Regions from separate parts of the Homo sapiens genome. Here regions 2 and 3 are each linked to region 1. The links are contacts of gene promoters, found by promoter capture Hi-C in human tissues and cell types (Jung and others, 2019). All regions are on one chromosome and are shown on one strand. The core of a region is centred on a gene start or on the middle of the fragment in contact, and the rest is flanking DNA. Distances in the headings are between cores, read along the strand shown. Region 1 holds the start of C20orf141 (chromosome 20 open reading frame 141). Region 2 has its middle 12 kb from the start of OXT. Region 3 overlaps LOC105372507 (a long non-coding RNA gene).

What was found. The method cuts DNA at HindIII sites, captures the fragments that hold promoters and counts their contacts. A contact is called where the count stands out against the background at its distance.
Region 2: a fragment that was not itself captured here is called in contact with the fragment with the promoter of C20orf141 in region 1 in 1 of the 25 tissues and cell types used here (bladder).
Region 3: a contact is called between a fragment that was not itself captured here and the fragment with the promoter of C20orf141 in region 1, in 2 of the 25 tissues and cell types used here (adrenal gland and spleen).

Annotation. Positions count from the first base shown.
Region 1 is chr20:2,812,568-2,816,748 of GRCh38, forward strand. It overlaps C20orf141 (chromosome 20 open reading frame 141), which reads left to right and starts at 2,420. Exons shown (of 3, transcript NM_001256538.2): 1 at 2,420-2,450; 2 at 2,585-2,877; 3 at 2,971-3,263. The coding sequence starts at 2,618. The coding sequence ends at 3,208. It overlaps TMEM239 (transmembrane protein 239), which reads left to right and starts at 3,797. Exons shown (of 2, transcript NM_001167670.3): 1 at 3,797-3,848; 2 at 3,977-4,181. The coding sequence starts at 3,988. The HindIII fragment of the contact is 18,533 bases long and covers 1-4,181 here.
Region 2 is chr20:3,057,695-3,061,875 of GRCh38, forward strand. No RefSeq gene overlaps it. Among named protein-coding and RNA genes, the nearest start is that of OXT, 12 kb to the right of the region's middle. RefSeq lists enhancers at 1,421-1,922, 1,923-2,422. The HindIII fragment of the contact is 4,505 bases long and covers 1-4,181 here.
Region 3 is chr20:2,675,511-2,679,691 of GRCh38, forward strand. All of the region lies in intron 2 of LOC105372507 (a long non-coding RNA gene), which reads right to left. Among named protein-coding and RNA genes, the nearest start is that of IDH3B-DT, 13 kb to the left of the region's middle. The HindIII fragment of the contact is 8,763 bases long and covers 1-4,181 here.

The DNA.
Region 1 (4,181 bases), core at 1,170-3,669:
TGGTGTTTAGAAGTGTGATACCATTCTTGCTTCAGATCCGATGTATGTGATGTTTTTATTTGGTGGAAGCTCTTAGGATTGTCTTTTTATCCCTGCTAATGTGAATTTCATTATATGCCTTGATGTTAGCTGCCCTGTTTCATGTATTGGGCTGTGAATTGGTGGAAAGTTATGGTCTAGAGAATCATGTCCTTCAATTCTGAAGAGTCTCTTGATTTTTAAAAATCTTTCCCTTCTGGTCGGGCAGGGTGGCTCACACCTGTAATCCCAGCACTTTGGGAGGCTGAGGCGGTCACATCACCTGAGGTCAGGAGTTTGAGACCAGCCTGGCCGACATGGTGAAACCCTGTCTCTACTAAAAATACAAAAATTAGCTGGGTGTGGTGGTGGGTGCCTGTAATCTCAGTTACTTGGGAGGCTGAAGCAGGAGAATCACTTAAACCCGGGAGGCGGAGGTTGCAGTGAGCCAAGATGGCGCCATTGCACTCCAGCCTGGGCAACAAGAGCGAAACTCTGTCTCAAAAAAAAAAAAAAAAAAAAATAGAAAGAAAGGTTTTCCTCCTCAGAGCACTCCCTCAATAAACCATGTGTACAAGTATCCCCATCTCAGGCTCTACTTTTAGAAATTATGACCCATTGATATAGTCTGAATATTTGTCCAAATCTCAAGTTGAAATCTCAAATCCCAATGTTGGAGGTAGGGCCTGATGGGAGGTGTTTGGGTCATGGGGGTGGATATTTCATGGCTTGGTGCTGTCCTTGAAATAGTGAGTGAGTTCTCTCAAGATCTGGTTGTTTAAGTGTGTGGCAACTCCCCTAACCACCACTCTCTCCCTTGCTCTTCACCCTTTGCCTTCTGCCATGATTGGAAGTTTCCTGAGGTCTCCCCAAAAGCAGATGCTGGTACCCTACTTCCTGTACAGCCTGCAAAACTGCAAGCCAATTAAGCCTCTTTTCTTATAAATTACCCAGTCTCAGGTATTTCTTCATAGCAACGCAAGAATGGCCTAATACACCCACCATCTGGTGCAGTGCCTGGCACATAGGAAGCACTTAAATAAATGATTGTTGAATACAAAATAAACTCTGAGAAAATCACAGACAGAACTCTCCTATACATGCATACAGAGCACCTGGTGCATAGTAAATCTTTAAGGAGCTTTAGACTCTCCGATCCCCCCATGCCCTGCAATATGGAGTAGCCTCATCTTGGTGGACTCATCAGGACATGCTCCCCAGGTCTGTATGTCCAGGAATGCAATTGTGTGGATGCATCCAGGATTGATCAGGCTCAGGGAATTGCCAATCTTAAACCTTAATGTTCCTTTACAAGCACAATTGGAACTTAATGCCAAAAAAAAAAAAATTCTGGGATCTTCTGTTATACCCTATCCCATTACGGACAAATCTACTCGTAAAACCCAGCTGCTGGATAAGCAAGAACAGCCAGACCAAGGGCGATCAGTGCATGGTCATTAGGGCTGGTGACCCTCGTCTCTGGGCAAGGCCTGCTGGAGGTGGATATGCAGCCTGATTCTTGTTCTGTCTCCTCCTCTCCTAGGGGCTGTATGGCCACTGTCTCCCATTTTGCCACCCCTACCAGTTTTCCTTCAAAGTATGATATGTGGGCAAAGATTAAGTTCTCTTAATTATGACACATTTCCGCTCTTGCCTCTCAAGTCACTAAACTGAGATGTGCTGGACCCCTATGGCCACCACCCATTTACAGATGATCAGTGTAATCTGATATACTGATAATCCAAGTGACTAAGCCCTTCATTATATGTTCATTTTCCTTAACTCCATTCTCAGACTGTAACCTTAACCTCTAATAAGGGGGTTACTAGGTCATAGTCCTCTTAAGTTCATGTCCTCTACCTCATTACTGGAACCCCAGTATGCATAACACCCCCTATAAACTGTAGTGCTTAGAATACCTGAACAGCCCCCTCCTCTCTCACCCCCATTTAGCAGGTTATGCGGAAGCCCAGCCCCAGAAGCCTCAGGCAGTCCCCTGGCAGAGCCCATCTCTGCAATCTGGAACTTCAGGCCTGAAAAATCCCCTAGAAGGACCCACAGGGAAGACAGCTGGGGACAGAGATATTGAATGACTTCGCCCTGGACCTGCAGCTCTGCAAACTCACAGGAAGAAGAAAGCAGACCTCGCTCCCTTGGACAGATGCCCAAGTAGTAATGGGGTTAGAATGCCTTCCTGACAACTCAGATCCCCAAGGGAGGGCCCTAGGGCAGAGAATCAGCAAAGGCAAGAGGATGAGTCTTAGTTCTCAGAAATCCCTGACTTCCCAGCTAAGCCCCACCTAGGCCACCAGCTGCTTATGAGGTCAGAGCAGCAGCAGCAGCAGCCCCCTCCCTACCCCACGGCCCCACGTGGTAACAGGTCACAATGCCCCGGGTGCCCACTCCCAGAATGCTGACCAAAGTGGGAGGAGGTGAGGAGGGTTTGCTGGGTGGGTATGGGGGAGGGGGAGACTCTGCAGGAGCCTAATTCCCCACTCTGAGCTCACCCTTCTGTCTGCCCGGGCCCTACCCCTTCCCCTACTCTCACCCTTATAATCCTTTTCAGCACTAGGTCTTCCCGTCACCTCCACCTCTCTCCATGACCCGGCTCTGCTTACCCAGACCCGAAGCACGTGAGGATCCGATCCCAGTTCCTCCAAGGGGCCTGGGTGCTGGGGAGGGGTCAGGTAGTCCAGTGCGTCCACCTGTATCCACCTGGGGCCCTAGCTGGGCCCAGCTCCTGGACAGTGTCCTATGGCTGGGGGCACTAGGACTGACAATCCAGGCAGTCTTTTCCACCACTGGCCCAGCCCTGCTGCTGCTTCTGGTCAGCTTCCTCACCTTTGACCTGCTCCATAGGTAAGTGGGCAGCAGCCTGGCAGGTGGGCATTGTAGGCGGGCGGGCCAGTGGACAACTTCCCTAAGCCCAGTCACCACCCTCTCTCTCCACAGGCCCGCAGGTCACACTCTGCCACAGCGCAAACTTCTCACCAGGGGCCAGAGTCAGGGGGCCGGTGAAGGTCCTGGACAGCAGGAGGCTCTACTCCTGCAAATGGGTACAGTCTCAGGACAACTTAGCCTCCAGGACGCACTGCTGCTGCTGCTCATGGGGCTGGGCCCGCTCCTGAGAGCCTGTGGCATGCCCTTGACCCTGCTTGGCCTGGCTTTCTGCCTCCATCCTTGGGCCTGAGAGCCCCTCCCCACAACTCAGTGTCCTTCAAATATACAATGACCACCCTTCTTCATCAGGCCCCCTTTTCTCCTTCCTGGCTGGGCAGGTGGGATGATACCCCTTTCTTCCCAGCCTGAACCTCACAGTCCTATAATATAGGTATCAGATACCTGGATCTGAGTCTTTGGGCAGCAAGAGAAGGTAGGATACTAGCCAGGGAGCCCAAGGAAGAATGTGGCAGCCACCTCAGAGCCTGTGGATTGGGGGCAGCCACTCTGGCCTCCTCTGTGGCTCTAGAGAATGAAGGTCCAGACAGAAAGACTTGCGAGAGAGCAGTTTGGAAAGGGGTGGATATCAGCCAGCAGGGAAAGCAGGAAAGGGACAGGGATCCAGGGAGGGCTTCCCATGAGAAAGCATGAGAAACTACATCTGCGGGGCTCCGAGGCTCCCCTGCCAGCCTGGAGGGTCCGTGCAGAGGGACTTGGGTGGGCCTCACACCCTACAGTGACTCCTCTCTTGGCTGGACCCCACCCCAGCCCGGGTCACAAAGGGGCTCCTCTGGGGAGGGTGGGGGTAGATGAGAGTGGGGACTTGGATCTGCCTGCCAGGCCGTCCTGGGCGCTGCAGGAAGCAACATGACTTAGGTAACTGCCCAGAGGTAAGTCCCAGTCCCTAATTCTGTAGCCCCACCCCACGCACACTGGTGCCCTCCTGACCCCTGCACCCCCTCTCTGCCCCCCCCCCCCAAGGTCCCAGGCATCTTCAAGACCCTGGCCCTCTCCCCAGGTGCACCAGACATGATGCAGCAGCCGCGAGTGGAGACAGATACCATCGGGGCTGGCGAGGGGCCACAGCAGGCAGTGCCCTGGTCAGCCTGGGTCACGAGGCATGGCTGGGTGCGCTGGTGGGTGAGCCACATGCCCCCGAGCTGGATCCAGTGGTGGAGCACCTCGAACTGGCGGCAACCGCTGCAGCGCCTGCTGTGGGGTCT
Region 2 (4,181 bases), core at 963-3,462, 240 kb after region 1:
AAGAAAAAAAAAAAGATTTGTACACTTTGTGAAATTTTTACTCAAGAAAAGTGAAGGAGAAATATTTCCCAAGGAGAAGATGACACAGTGAAGTGTGACTGCATAAATTTGGCCACGAAGGTAGAAAGGGCATCACATGAATGCCCGGTCTTCTGTAAATATGTGTGTTGTTCTTATAGTAATACCAAAACAGTTTGTCTTTTTTTTTTTTTTCTTTTTTTTTGAGACTGAGTCTTGCTCTGTCACCCAGGCTGGAGTACAGTGGTGCAATCTCAGCTCACTGCAGCGTAGACCTCCCAGGCTCAAGCGATCTTCCCACCTCAGCCTCCTGAGTAGCTGGGACCACAGGCGCATGCCACCACTCCTGGCTAATTTTATATTTTTTTGTAGAGACAGGGTTTCACCATGTTGCCCAGGCAGGTCTCAAACTCCTGGGCTCAAGTGATCTGCCCACCTTGGCCTCCCAAAGTGCTGGGATTATAGGCATGAGCCACTGAGCCTGGCAGATTGTCTTTTCACCAAAAAAATGATGGACAAGTTACTGTACCTTGCATTCTTTATCTCTAAAAAGGAGACATGTTGCATGGTGAACCTCTGAATTTTGGAGTCAACACTGGCCACATTTGAATGTTCTGCTCGTCAGGACTAGAAGTGCTGCCAGCTTTGAGGGGCATTTAGGGCAAGAGAAGACAGCTTAAGAGATCCAGTTGCAAGGCAGGCCACTCTGTACTTTGGGCCTTATGATCCAGTAGATCCAGTAGAACTGGTACTCAAGATGTCCACAGTTAACCAGAATGCTATGTGGACCTGTAGTAAGCTTCAGTGGATACTCACATCAGAAGTCCCTTGGGTTTGTTTTTTGTTTTTTGTTGTTGTTGTTTGTTTGTTTTCCTTTTTTATGTTGAGACGGAGTATCATTCTGTCACCCAGGCTGGAGTGCAGTGGAGTGATCTCGGCTCACTGCAACCTCCGCCTCCCAGGCTCAAGCAATTCTCCTGCCTCAGCCTCCTGAGTAGATGGAACTACAGGTGTGCACCACCACACCTGGCTAATTTTTGTATTTTTAGTAGAGAGGGGTTTCACCATGTTGGCCAGGCTAGTCTCGAACTCCTGACCTCAGGTGATCCTCCCACCTCGGCCTCCCAAAGTGCTGGGATTACAAGTGTGAGAAAATATATACTTTTTTTGTTTGTTTGTTTGTTTGAGACAGAGTTTTGCTCTTGTCACCCAGACTGGAGTGCAGTGACATGATCTCGGCTCACTGCAACCTCCATCTCCTAGGTTCAAGCAATTCTCCTGCCTCAGCCTCCCAAGTAGCTGGGATTACAGACGCCCACCACCATGCCCAGCTAATTTTTGTATTTTTAGTGGAGGGTTTCAACATGTTGGCCAGGCTAGTCTTGAACTCCTGGCCTCAAGTGATCCGCCCACCTTGGCCTCTCAAAGTGCTGGGATTACAGGCGTGGGCCACCGTGCCCGGCTGAGTATACTCTATTTTTATTTGTCAATTATACCTCAATAAAGCTGGGGGAAAAAAACTGAAAAAATACTGGTCATGAATTATTTTTCTTTGGTGGGGCTACCATTCTCTCCCACTCCACTGGCTGTGTGGAAATAGCCCACACATCGGTTGCAGGTGCAGAGGACATCTGAGGACAGGCTCGCCCTGCCCACCACCATTGCCACTGGTGCCCGAGCATGCCTTCCAGGGCCTGGGGATCAATCCATCCTATCTGCCACTGCCAGTGCCCATGCACACCATCTGGGGGGCTGAAAACAGGCCTGCCCTGCCCTTCACCACCACCATTGCTGCCAGCACCTGTGCACATCATCCAGGGGCCTGAGATTCAATCTGCCCAGCCCACCACCATCACCACCCGTGTGCACCATCCAGGGGCCTAAGGGTCCCACCCTACCTACTGATGTCAATGCTAGTACCCATGCATGTCATCCAGGGGTCTGGGGGTTGACCTGCACTGTCAGCACACATGCACGCCTTCCAGGGACCTGAGGATGGGCTCACCCCACCTACTGCTGCCGTCCATGTGTACTGTCCAGAGACCTAGGGATTGATCCACCCACTTCACTGCCACTGGTGTGCATGCCACACATGCACACTGTCCAGGAGCCCAAGGACAGGTCCACCTTGCCTACCACTGATTCCTGTGTGCATCTCCCAGAGGCCCAGGCACTGGCCCACCCAGCCTGCTGCTGCCAGTCAGTACCAGCACGCCACCCAGGGGCCTGGGGACTGGCCCAAACAGATTGCTGTTACCACCACCCTGTCCAAAAAAAAAAAAGACCCAATTGTATGCTGCCTATCAGAAATTCACTTCACCCGTAAAGACACACATAGACTGAAAATGAATAGATGAAAAAAAAATTCCATGCAATTCCATAAAATTGGGGAAAAAATGACTGTTATAAGTGACTGATATCCTGCATGCTTTTATTTATTTATTTATTTATTTTTTGAGACGGAGTTTCGTTCTTGTTGCCCAAGCTGGAGTGCAATGGTGCGATCTTGGCTTACTGCAACCTCTGCCTCCTGGGATTACAGGCACCCGCCACCACACCCAGCTAATTTTTGTATTTTTAGTAGAGACGGGGTTTCACCATGTTGGCCAGGCTGTACTTGAACTCCTGACCTCAGGTGATCTGCCTGCCTCTGCCTCCCAAAGTGCTGGGATTACAGGTGTGAGCCACCACACCGGCCTTGCATGCTTTCAGTTTCCAATCATTTGGAAGCCAAAATTATTGGAACAGTCATTAATAGCCTACTATATAACAACAAATGCCTACATCAAAAAAAGTAGGAAGACTTCAAGTAAACAACCTCATGATGCTCCTCAAGGAGCTAGAAAAGCAAGAATAAACCAAACCCAAAGGAAAGAAACATAAAGATCAGAGCAGAACTAAACAGAATAGAGACTAAAAAAGGGAAACAAAGGGTCAATGAAATAAAAACTTGTTTTTTAAAAAATATAAACAAAATCCACAAACCTGTGCTTGGTGTGTGAGAAAAAAAAAAAAAAAATCAATAAGCCACTACCAGGACTAACCTAGAAAAAAAGAGAGAAGACCCAAATAAAATTAGAAATGAGAAAGGAGACATACAACTGATATCACAGAAATACAAGGGATCATTAGAAACTATTATGAACAACTATACACTAACAAATTGGAAACCCTAGAGGATATCTATGAATTCCTGGACACAAACAACCTACCAAGATTGAACCAGGAAAAAAATAGAAAACCTGAAGAGATCAATGATGAGTAACCACATTGAATCAATAATTAAAAGTCTCTCAACAGAGAAAAGCTCAGGACCAGATGGCTTTACTGTGGAATTCTACCAATTTATAAAGAACTAACACCCATTCTTCTCAAACTATTCCTAAAAATTGAAGAGAATTTTTTTCTAACTCATTCTATGAGGCCAGCGTTACCCAGACACCAAAACCAGACTAGGACACACACAACAACAAAAGAAAACTACAGGCCAATATACCTGATAAACATAGATGCAAAAATCCTCAACAAAATACAGTTGATCCTTGAAGAATGTGGAGGCTATGGATGCCAAAACCCTGCACACTAGAAAATTCACATATAACGTTTGACCCCCCCAAAACTTAATTACTAATAATTAAGTGAAAGGCCTTTACAATGAAAACTATAAGACACTGATAAAAAAAAATTGAAGTCCGGGCGCCGTGGCTCACACCTGTAATCCCAGCACTTTGGGAGGCTGAGGCGGGTGGATCACAAGGTCAGAAGTTCGAGACCAGCCTGGCCAAGATGGTGAAACCCCATCTCTACTAAAATAAATAAAAAATTAGCCGGGCGTGGTGGCAGGCGCCTGTAGTCCCAGCTACTCCGGAGGCTGAGGCAGGAGAATTCCTTGAACCTGGGAGGCGGAGGTTGCAGTGAGCCGAGATCGTGCCACTGCACTCTAGCCTGGGCGACAGAGCAAGACTCCATCTCAAAAAAAAAAAAAAAAAGAAAAAAAATTGAAAAGGATACAAACAAATGGAAAGGCATCCCATGCTCATGGATTGGAAGAGTATTGTTAAATGACTGTACTACTCAAAGCAATCCACAGATTCAGTGCAATCCCTATCAAAATACCAATGACATTCTTCACAGAAATAGAAAAAACAATCTGAAAATTTGTA
Region 3 (4,181 bases), core at 498-2,997, 140 kb before region 1:
GGCCCCCATCCCCTTTTTAAAAAGGTGCCCACTAACTTGTTACTGACCCAAAAAGTTCCTGTGACTCTCCAAACTGACACTCCCATTTTGGGATGGGTCAACTTGGATTTGGTGGCTACTAAGGGAGGGGCACAAAAGGCATTATTAATCCAATGGAAATACTGTATTCAGTAACACAGCTGGCCTGGTCCTAATATTAGCTGGGTTTTACATGAAAAAGTGGCAGCAAAAATCCCTTCAGGGGAAATCTTTTCCTAACTTCACCACTTGAAGCAAAGCTGCTGGCTCAATGGGGCCCTCAAGTCACAGAGGGTTCCCTAGGCACCTGGCCTGGTACAATGATGGTTTGGCTAGGCTGACACCTTATAGTGTCCACGTTCAACCTCAGCACCAGCTATGCAGAACCAAAAACAGGCATGGGCTGGGCGTGGTGGCTCACGCCTGTAATCCCAGCACTTTGGGAGGCCGAGGCGGGTGGATCACTTGAGGTCAGGAGTTCCAGATCAGCCTGGTCAACGTGGTGAAACCCCGTCTCTACTAAAAATACAAAAATTAGCCGGGCGTGGTGGCGTGCATCTGTAATCCCAGCTACTTGGGAGGCTAGGGGAAGAGAATTGCTTGAACTCAGGAGGCGGAGGTTGCAGTGAGCCGAGATCGCGCCATTGCACTCCAGTCTAGGCAACAGAGCGAGACTCCATCTCAAATTTAAAAAAATAATAATAAATAATAATTTTTTAAAAAAAGCAAGCATGACTGCTCCACTCAATGGACAGAGCTCAAGGGAGTGCTGATAGTTCTGGCCAATACTCCCCGTGATGAACCCTTCTACATTTTTACTGCCTTTTGTGTGGTTGCCAATGGCCTAGCTATCTTGCCCACAAGACTGGAAGATTAAAGACATTCCCTATTGCAGCTGCATATTGTGGAAATAATTTCAGCTGCCAATCAGATGCCCAAGTTACTCACAGAGATGCCCATGGTAAGGGCCCTTCTCTAATGAGACAAACTGTAGTCAAGCTGCTGATCCAGACTTCACTGCCCATACCACCACCATCACCACCTAGATCCGTCATCGAACAAGACATAACAACACATTCACCATCGTGGACTGAGCACAAAATCAAAAACTGTTTCAGGCCAGGCGCAGTGACTCACACCTGTAATCCTAGTACTTTGGGAGGCCAAGGCAGGCGGATCACTTGACGTCAGGAGTTTGAGACCAGCCCGGCCAACATGGTGAAACCCCATCTCTACTAAAACTACAAAAAGTAGCCAGGTGTGGTGGCAGGCGCCTGTAATCCCACCTACTTGGGAGGCTGAGGCAGGAGATTCGCTTGAACCTGGGGGGCAGAAGTTGCAGTGAGCCGAGATCGCATCACTGCACAGTGAGACTCTGTCTCAAAAAACAATAACAACAACAACAAAACAACTATGTGTTTCTGATGCAGAAGACACCACTACATACCAGAGCTGTGGTGCCTCCCAAAATTTGAGCCATTTGTCTTGCAGGGAAGGAGGCCGCATTGCACACAGAGTATTGCCCCCAGTTGCTCCTGGATGATTGTCCAGATATCAGATAGCTGACCCCCTCCCCAGGCTGTGTCATTGGTGCCTCACTTCTGTCAGAACGTTTTCAGGTTACAATGTTGCTGTTCTTGTCTGTTCTAGTCTGAATAGAGTCTGGGGCCCCAGTCACACTATTTTGGCCCCTGAAACTAAGTCATGTCAAGTTTTTGGATTCTCAGACCACCTACAGTCTGACAGTGATGCACCTTTTATTGCAAAAGCCGCCCAACAATGGGCCAGTAGTCAAAGTATTCGATGGACATGCTAGGCTCCCTACCATCTGCTAGTATCTGGTATTATTGAGCACTGGAATGGCCTCCTCCAAAGCTTCTGACTACCTCCATCAACTCCTTCTGGGCCACATACTTCAGCGAGGCAGTATGATCACTGAATGCAGCTATCTCCAAAGATCATCTCCTTTCAGCCACTTCCTGGGTACTGATCAGGATGAAAACAGGTGGAGGGTTATATAGATCTATTCTGAAAAGTTGGGAGCATGGTGCTTCTTTTTTCTTTCCTCTCCCACCCCTAACCCAACAGCAACCCCACACCAGCCTGCTTGGTGCACCCTCCAGGTGTCAGCCCGGCAAAAGGGGACTTAGGGGATTCAAACTTATCTCTAATTCTGGTTTAGCCACTTGGATTCTCTTGACAGATTAACCTGATCCCAGATCAGTGTACTCATTGAATACAATTGCTTGCCAAATTGAGTACACTGGTTGAGTACATTCCTTGCCAAGTTCTCTCACACTGGCTCATATAGGCCAAGGTGCGAGATACAATGGATGTCTGTAAATTTTGTAAAAATGTCCTTGTCTCACTCACGCCTCGCTCTAGCAGACAAAAGGTCTGGGTATGAGTAGGGAAAGATCGGAGAAATGATGAAGTTATGGCTACTGGAATGAGATATGCTGCTTTCATAGCCAGGAAGCCTGCGAGAAGACACCTTAGATGCCAGCAGGTGCAAACAGTGGAGAATGATCAATGTGCTCTTTGTCCCCTAGATCCAGCATTGAAACCTAGAAAAACCATCATCTCGTTCATCTGAGTTGAGCAGCAGCTGCAGCTGACAGTCTTACCCTTTCTGGATTTATCATGCTGCCTGCATGCTATGAAAACAGGGGAATTCATAAGGAGGTGGCCAGTCCTGGCTATTCAGTTGTGGCCTTTGCCAGCCATCAATGGCAGCTCCCAAATATGGAACCTCCCCTTACCCCATACATGCACAAACACACCATCCAGCACAACCTTGTTTGTCTGATTGGTACAAACACAGGCACTTTTCCTGTCACCCACGTGGCTTTGGTTCATGTATGGTGTCTGAGGATGCAAGCGTTAGGTGACACCATCCATGTGGCTAAACCAAACCAGTGTAATGATAATCCAAATCAGAATCAACAACAAATTCTGAATTCAAGTAACACGTAACCTGTTGGGTGTATGTTTGTATGTGGGCCATGTGATGTCTCTCCATTAGGGATGAGGGTTGCTTTTGGCCCATCTATCACTTCATATAATTACTGGCGATGACATTGAGGACCAGTAGATTAGTCTAGAACTCACTTATGCAGGTTGTAATGGATAATGACCTGGCCTTAGACTGTATCCTGGCCTACTAAGGCCTACTGATCCCCTTGAGACTTATTCACAGGTGACTGAGTCTGAGACGCCGGGTGGCATTGTTGAAGCCAATACTGTTGGTTGGCCTCATCTTGCTTGAGGTTCTATTGGTAGTAAATTCTGTATGAGACAAATTGAGCAAATTTGGTCCCAGTCTAGGGTGATCAGATTGATTGGAGTGGCAGATGGAGTGGTATACTCATGGGAATATTCCACTTTGGCCAAGAATGTGTAAGGTCAATTATTGGGAGAGGAAAGCTGTCAGAGGCCCTGAACGTCCCAGCACATTTTTACTGAGTATGCCAAGACTACAAGGCCCTGACCCCTCTTTCCTGGGCTGTTTCTCAGGGTCGTGCATTGCAGTAAGCCACCTTGAGGAATGAGGTTAATATCTCTCTCCAGGACAAAGAGCAGACTTGCTTACTGCTGTCTATGAAAGAGGGGGTTCCCCAGGCTCAATGTTCCTCACGTGGGGCACAAACCCAGTGCATGCACAGAATCCATAAGGCTCCTTCCCATTTTCCTTGTGGAACTTAGGGAACAAGGGGAGCTGATACAAACAGGGTGCTTTTGCTACTTGCTATGCTGTGTTAATATGCTTTGCTTTGTCTCTAATCTAGGAATCTCCTGTCTTCTGCCAGCATTCATGAAACAGTAACAAAGTAACTTATCTTGAAAGGAGGGCAAAATACAATCCAAGATATTTATATGTAGCAAAGTGAAAGAGAATAAACAGTAACTGCTAGAGAATGCCTTAGGCAAAAAGGCATCCTTGGATGTTGTCTTAGTTGGCTCAGGTTACCATCACAAAACGCCATAGACTGGGTGGCTTCAACAACAGAAATTTATTTTCTCAGAGTTCTGGAGGCTGGGAAGTCGCAGATCAAGGTACCAGTTGATTTGGGTCCTGGTGAGGGCTGTCTTCCTGGCTTGCACATGGTCACTTTCTCATTGTGTCCTCACATAGTGGAGATTGAGAGTTTTAGTGTCCCTTC